Linked DNA regions of Homo sapiens: region 2 is linked to region 1. Evidence: promoter capture Hi-C in human tissues and cell types (Jung and others, 2019). All regions are on one chromosome and are shown on one strand. Each heading gives the region's core, a stretch centred on a gene start or on the middle of the fragment in contact. The rest is flanking DNA. Distances are from core to core; before and after follow the strand shown.

What was found. The method cuts DNA at HindIII sites, captures the fragments that hold promoters and counts their contacts. A contact is called where the count stands out against the background at its distance.
Region 2: a contact is called between a fragment that was not itself captured here and the fragment with the promoter of NTM in region 1, in 1 of the 25 tissues and cell types used here (dorsolateral prefrontal cortex).

Annotation. Positions count from the first base shown.
Region 1 is chr11:131,369,309-131,372,806 of GRCh38, reverse strand. NTM (neurotrimin) reads right to left here and starts at 2,192. Exons shown (of 9, transcript NM_001352005.2): 1 at 1,919-2,192. The coding sequence starts at 2,000. The HindIII fragment of the contact is 4,341 bases long and covers 1,788-3,498 here.
Region 2 is chr11:132,155,458-132,158,872 of GRCh38, reverse strand. All of the region lies in intron 3 of NTM (neurotrimin), which reads right to left. Among named protein-coding and RNA genes, the nearest start is that of NTM-IT, 130 kb to the left of the region's middle. The HindIII fragment of the contact is 4,902 bases long and covers 1-3,415 here.

The DNA of each region.
Region 1 (3,498 bases), core at 943-3,442:
ATGAAAAAAAAAATCACGTATGCTAATTTATATGTAAATTCAGTATGGCCCTGGGGCTCCTGGCATGCAGCCAGCAGGGCTGTTGATGGTGGAAGTTTGGTCATTGTCTCCAGTTTGATGTTACAGGCAGAAGAGACATGGATCTCGGGACAGATAGAAATGACTGAGGGCTTGGGACCTTCCCTCTCCCTACCTCTGACCCCTCACCCTACCCCTTGCCTGCTTAGTTTTCATTTTTGCTGTCAACCCCCACAGAAACTGCTTTTCCGAAACTGCCCGATCCTGAACTCAGCTTCCCCACTTCATTCTTGTGCACCCAGAACAAGCAGGGGTGCACACACACGCACGCACACACACACACACTGATACTGCTTCATATTATATAAGAGGAGTCAATCGAGGATGCCTCCAAGTTGATTCCCTTCACTCAAACACCCACCAAAGCCCCTAGGGGACAGCAGGGAATCCTGAGGCCCATGCCTCCTGGGGTTGGGTGCAGCAGACGACATCATGGACATCCCTGCAAGATTCACCACCTTGGACTTCCTTATCACCCGACACAGATCCCTCCTGTCCCCACCCCTTGCCTTCTTCATCGAGCCCCAGTCAAGGGTGTACACATTTGATCCTTCCAGCCTGGTCTCTCTGCCCACCTTACGTGGATCCACACTGCAGCCACTGCAACCTATGTCAAGAGGACAGCAGCAATCCCTAAATCCTAACCTCGGAGAAGAGCCAGCAGGACTACAGCTCAGGACTCAGTCCAGATCAGGAGAACTCCATATTGCAGGGGGAGAAGAGGGCGAGGGGGTGGGACTCCCCATCGTTTTTCACCGGGTCAGAGGGAACTTTCCTCTGGGAATACAACTGCATAGGACTGAGCCTCACCTCCCAAGAGAGGGCTCCTCCTCCCGGAGCCCTGCTGGGCCACCCTGGGAAAGTTTCTCAGCTTGTCTCGATCCTTACGAGTTTTAGCTGTGTTTAATATAAAAGAGGCAAACTAGTTACCCCAAAGGACAGGGCAGGTGGGAGCAAGAAGATTAGTGGATAATTCTGTTGCTGGAACGAACAGACGTGAGAGCCGGGATGGGGTGTGGGGAGGCACGGTGCAGCAAATGGACTCAAGGTGGAGGCCGATTCCAAATGCACAGAACACAGCACTGGGGACATCAAAGCTTGCACTCAACTGCAGCCCCCAGGGCTCCCGGCTCAGCCGATAAATAAACAGAAAATTAGCATTCGACTCTTATTGCCTCTCTCCCTTCAACTTCGAAAAGCTTTTTAGAATTTCAGAGCCCCGGCTCCCCTCGCTTCCACACCTCCGACCCCAGCCACAAACACACCCCCGAACACATTTAAAACTAATACAGTTGTCCCCCACTGCTGCAAATTGACTCATCCCTTGCAGCTGGATCGCTGACCAGAACCTCACAGGAAGCACCTGATTCTTTCTAGCCTGCATTTTCCCCTTTGCTCCTTTTAAAAGCTTTGCAAGTTCGCTGGCCGATATTTAAAGTTTCCTCTTGTAATTTCTTCCCAGTCGCATAAGCAACACATTAGCAACCCTGTTGCCCTCCGAATCTGTCATTTCCCCCTGCTTACATGTGTGCTCCGTTGTGTATGTGTGCAAGAATGTGCATGAAGCCAGGGAGCCTTGCACACAAGCACAGTCCTAACAGGAGCACCAAACACATTTTACTTATGCACATACATATTCCCCCATTCCGGTAGCAGCCAGAATCAAATCAATATTCTCACAGCCTAGTCGGGAGAATGAAGTCCCAGCCATGCTGTCTAAACGCTCTCTCCTCCACCTGCAAACAGCGCAGCACAGCCGACTCGGGGAGTCTGCAAATCTTATAAAGCACACTGTACAATTCCTGGGTCTACCGAAGGCAAATCAATAGCAAGCTCTTACCTTGGAAGAGACACAGAGCAGCCAGCCCCGTGAAGATTGCCCAAGAGATAGAATTGTGCATTTTTGGCTGGATGGTTTTCATGATTTTTTTTCTTCTTCTTTTTCTTCTTTTTTGTCAGGTTCGGTTTTTTTCTTTCTTTCTTTCCTGATAGATTGTGTTGCTCTCAAGCTTGTGCAAGGAGATTTAAATCCACTGTTTTGCTGAAGGACACAACAAGAAAGCCGAGGGTGTGAGAGAGTATGACTTCTCCGTAATTATCTCCACTCATACTCTGGCACTGAGACACATTGTACAATCTGGCCCTGGACAGCCCTCCTACAAGCTGCAATCATTGGTTCTAATCCAAGGATTGACAGAGCTACAACACACGCGCGCGGGCACACACACACACACACACGCACACACACTCTCAGGAATCATTTACTGGGCAAATCAGGCTAGCTGATTAAAGAGACAGGAGCCTGGAGAGATAGAATGATAAATGCCACTTTGCCCCTTCTATATTACTTTCATTTTTTAAACTGACAGTCTCTGAGTCTTCTGAGTATCAGAAAATCCCTTTCCCCCTGGCATTCCCTGGCCTCCTGAACTCAGATTCCCTTTGCACTGGAAAAATCCCATAGCCAGCCATGGCTTATGGGAAATTTTAAAGGGACATTTTCATGCTCAGTGAAACTTGTAAAGATGAGGCAATTTTCATTTGTTGGTACCTATTTTCCCCTCCAATGGAAATATCATTCAGTGACAGCTTTTTTTTCTCTCTTTCATCAACCTTTCTACTTAGTTGCTTTGAAAATAGTAAATAACTTTCTATTTTCTCCTCCTGTCACTTCTGTTTCAGAACATCTATGTTACTCCTCTTTTTCATTCACTTTTTAGAAGTCAATTTCCTAAATTCATCCATGTGTATATGATACAATGGAAAGGTACAAAGTACCTGGTATTTGAGAAGAAGCTCTATAGTCTGAAGATGGAGAACCTTCTTCAAAAGAAAACAAAGCAGGAGTTTATTCCCCATGACTTGGTCAATCCACATCCACTAAAGCAATCATAGAAGCATCTGTGATTTAAACTGCAGCGAGAAAGATTCAGGGTAGACATGCGGAGGGGCTTTCTGAGTGTAAACTTTGTGTAGTTCCTCAGACAGTTGAAGACATTAACCTCCTTGGTGATAGGAAAGAATAAAAACCGAACAGAAATAATCTAATGGACATAAATGATTTCTTAAGAGGTCTAATTCTAGGGCCTGGAAGTTTATTCTAATCTTTGGCTTCCCCTTATGAGAAGCAAGTTAGAGGATGTGAACAAAAAATCTAGAAAATGTAGCTCCTGGCTGGGCACTGTGGCTCACGCCTGTAATCCCACAACTTTGGGAGGCCAAGGAAGGCCAGTAGCCTGAGCTCAGGAATTCGAGACCAGCCTGGGCAACATGGTGAAACCCTATCTCTACTAAAAAATTCCTTAAAAATATCTGGGTTTGGTGGTGCGCACCCGTGGTTCCAGCCACTTGGGTGGCTGAGGCAGGAGAATTGCTTGAGCCTGGGAGGCGGAGATCACAGTAAGCCAAGATGGCGCCACT
Region 2 (3,415 bases), core at 174-2,673, 790 kb before region 1:
GAGTCCTTCCTGCTGTGTGATTTGTTCCTTCAATCTGGTTCAATTCTTTACCTTGCTAAGAAAATGCACACTGCAAAACTCAGCTGAATGTCACCTGGTCTGAGACTAGAGGGACCAAAACATTTTGATAGAAGTAACAGAGAAGTTCATGCTCTCACGCCTGACCAAAGAGAGAGCAAACACTGAGAAAATATGATCAAGTCCACTTAACGGTAGGCCTTTGTTTTCATTCATTCATTTATTTGACAAATGCTTACAGAGTGCCTACTATGCACCAGACCCTGTTCTAGGCACTTGGGAAACAACAATGAACATGCCAGATCAAGCCCCACCATCATGGCACACATGTTCTAGAGGGGTTGAAACAGGCTACCACTCTCCAACACGGAAATATCCATTATGCCAATAGGTGAGTTACTTTATAAAGAACAAACAAGGCAAGAAAGGTGCTAGGGTGTGATGATGTGGGGTTGGAAGCTCTATTTTATGCAGGTGGTGAAGAAGGCCTCTGCCTTAAGGTGACCTTGAACAGAGATCTAAGAAGAGAGCCCCAAGGACACCTGGCATGGGCACCAGCAGAGGGAGCTTTAAGGCCTGGAAGCCAGGAGGCCACCTTGGTGTATCACAGGCATATCAGGAAGTAGTGGAGACAGGGTAAGGAAAAGGGAGTGTGTGTGGAGGTGAAGCCAGGGAGACACTGGTGGCCGGACCAAGGAAGACCTTTTAGGCCACAGTAGGGATGTTAAAGACCTTAGGTGAGCCAGGAAGCGACTAAATCAGGAACAACGAAGCCTGCACAGAAATGCTTTCGCTGAGCATGGAGAACAGACGATAGGGAATAAGAACAAAAAAAGCAGGCCAGTTAGGTAGAAAGCTGTGGAACACTCCAGACAAAGGTAACAGCAGCTTGGGAGAGGGCAGAAGAGGCAGGACTGGATAAACCTCCGAATTCAGAAAATCTAGCAGGACGTGCTCAGGATTGAGGAAGAGGACGGGAAAAGGAAAACAGTGAAGACGGACTGCAGCTTTCACATGAGCCACTAGAAGAATGCAATTGCCATTTACCAGATGGCAAGACTCCAGGAGGAGCAGGTTTAGGGTTGGAGTCAGAGGATGGTCAGGAAAGAAGGCTAGAATTCAAGAGATCTATGTTTTACATTTTCAGTTTGAGATGCCTATGAGACACATAGTGGAGAAAAAACACAAATACGAGGTCCCTCTCCCAGTTAACAAGAGAATGTTTAGCGATTTTAATCTTCAACTCTGGTCCCACATTCACAAACCAAATCTCACAGCTTAATGCTAGGCGACATCAATGGTTTCCTCTCATTAAAACCATATTTGGCAGAGGTGTCTTTCCCTCCCTGCTTCCATACCCTAGGGCCCCTGGGACAGAAATTTTCAACATCAAAAAGTATCATCTTAGTTTTGAAATGTGGATGACTCCATCTGCTCCTGTAGATACCCCAAGGACAAAAAGCTGATGCCTCATTGCATTTACATGACAAGGGTGCATCTCCAAAGAGATTTTTTTTAAAAAGAAATAATGAAAAAGATGAGTGTTACTTCATCTCTCACAGTGACAAAGACTAAATTTGGGGCAGATTTCAAATATCAATTTTTGTTTTTCCTATTTCCATCCATTAAGGATTCAAAACATTGAAGGTCAGTGTATTTGTTTCCTTTTTCTATAACACATTTCCATATATTTAGTGGCTTAACAAACAAGAGAAATTGATTCTTTGATGATTCTGGAGGTGAGACGTCCAAAAATGACTCTCACTAGGCTGAAATCAGGGTATCAGGAAGGCTGTGATTCCTCCAGAGGCTCTCAAAAGATATCTGGTCTTTGGTGCTCCCAGCTTCCGCTGGCTATGGGCATTCTTTGGCTTGTGGCCACATCACTGTAACCCTGAGGGTCAGCATCTTCATATCCCTCTGCTCCCGTCTTTACACTGCCTTCTCCTCTGTGTGTGTTCCTATCAAATCTTCCTCTGCCTCCCTTTTGTAAAGATTTATGTGATTGCATTTAGGGCCCAGGACAATTTCCCTATCTCAAATCTTTAAACTAATCTCATCTGTAAAGACTCTACCATGCAAAGTATATTTTTGGGTTCCAGGGATTAGAATCTGATCTTTGTTTGGACATTATTCAGCCTACTACAACTAGTAATGAAAAAAAAATGAATCATTTTGTTTAATAATTATAATACAATAAAAAAGAAACTTTACAGATAGATTATCCAACAAATAGTCCCTGAGCTCTATTAAATTCCAGGCACTGGGGATAGAATGCACAAGCATACGGGCCCCCTGACCTCAGAAAAAATGACATAATCAACCAATCACACAGACAAATGCCACATTTTAACTGTGGCAAAAAGCAGGAAGAAGGGCAAGGCTCTAGCTCCTGGCAGAGGTGGGAGTGGCAGTGGTTAGCAGGTCTGGGAAAGTTCTCTATGGAAATGGCATTTGAGTCAAAGTCTGAAGGATAAATAGGACCGACTGGGTGAAAAGCAAAAGAGAATTCCAGGAAGAGGGAAGGGAACGTTCAAAGGGCCTATGACCAGAAATAACAAGAAAAAATACACTAGAATGAAAATAGTGAGGCAGGACATGGCATGAACCAGGAGCAGAGGTCCCCTGGAGCCTGGCCTCCAGGACTATCAACTCCTTCATAAGGAATTGGCTCTCTTGGGCTAAAGAGAAGTCTTTGAGGAACCTCCAGATTTGGTTTGAAAAGATCACTCAGGCTACAAGTGCAGAAATGAGGGGTGAGGGGTGCAAAGTGGGTGTGGCAGAATCGCTATTTTCATTCTAACAGTCGGGAGCTGAAACGCCACATTACTCAATTTCAAAAGACTTTATTATTTTCTTGGCCTTCTGCAACAGCAAAGCCTGGCTCCCAAGCTTGCAGCCATCGCTCTCAGCCCAGGGACTCTCCAGTGGCTGTGAGAGCTGCTGCCCTTACACACCCTACCTGCACCCCACTCCTTTGCACATCCCCATTGTAGGGACCCATCTCATCCATCTTTGTATCCATTCCAACCTCAATTTCAGGACTTGACACATGATGGTTTATGTGTGAAAGGGAAAATAATCAAAATTTCTCATCTTTCTTTCTCAGAGTAGGAAGAAATGGCTTGGCCAGCCTAGCCCTCAGAATGAGGAACAGTGTTAGCACACAGGTCCCCTCTGTGAAATCCAGGTTTTAGGACGATAAGAACACCATAAAACATGCCCAAACAAAACTGTGAGAACACAGGAGATGGTGGCAAGAGAGCTGAGGAAGAGCACCAGGTCAGAAGGCCAGAAAGCCAGGAGCAATAGAGCTCCGCGGAGGCGGCTGAGGCTGGAGAAACGGGATGCGACCCAGACCGGTTTCTGGGAACAGGGACCCACATCAGCGGCAGGA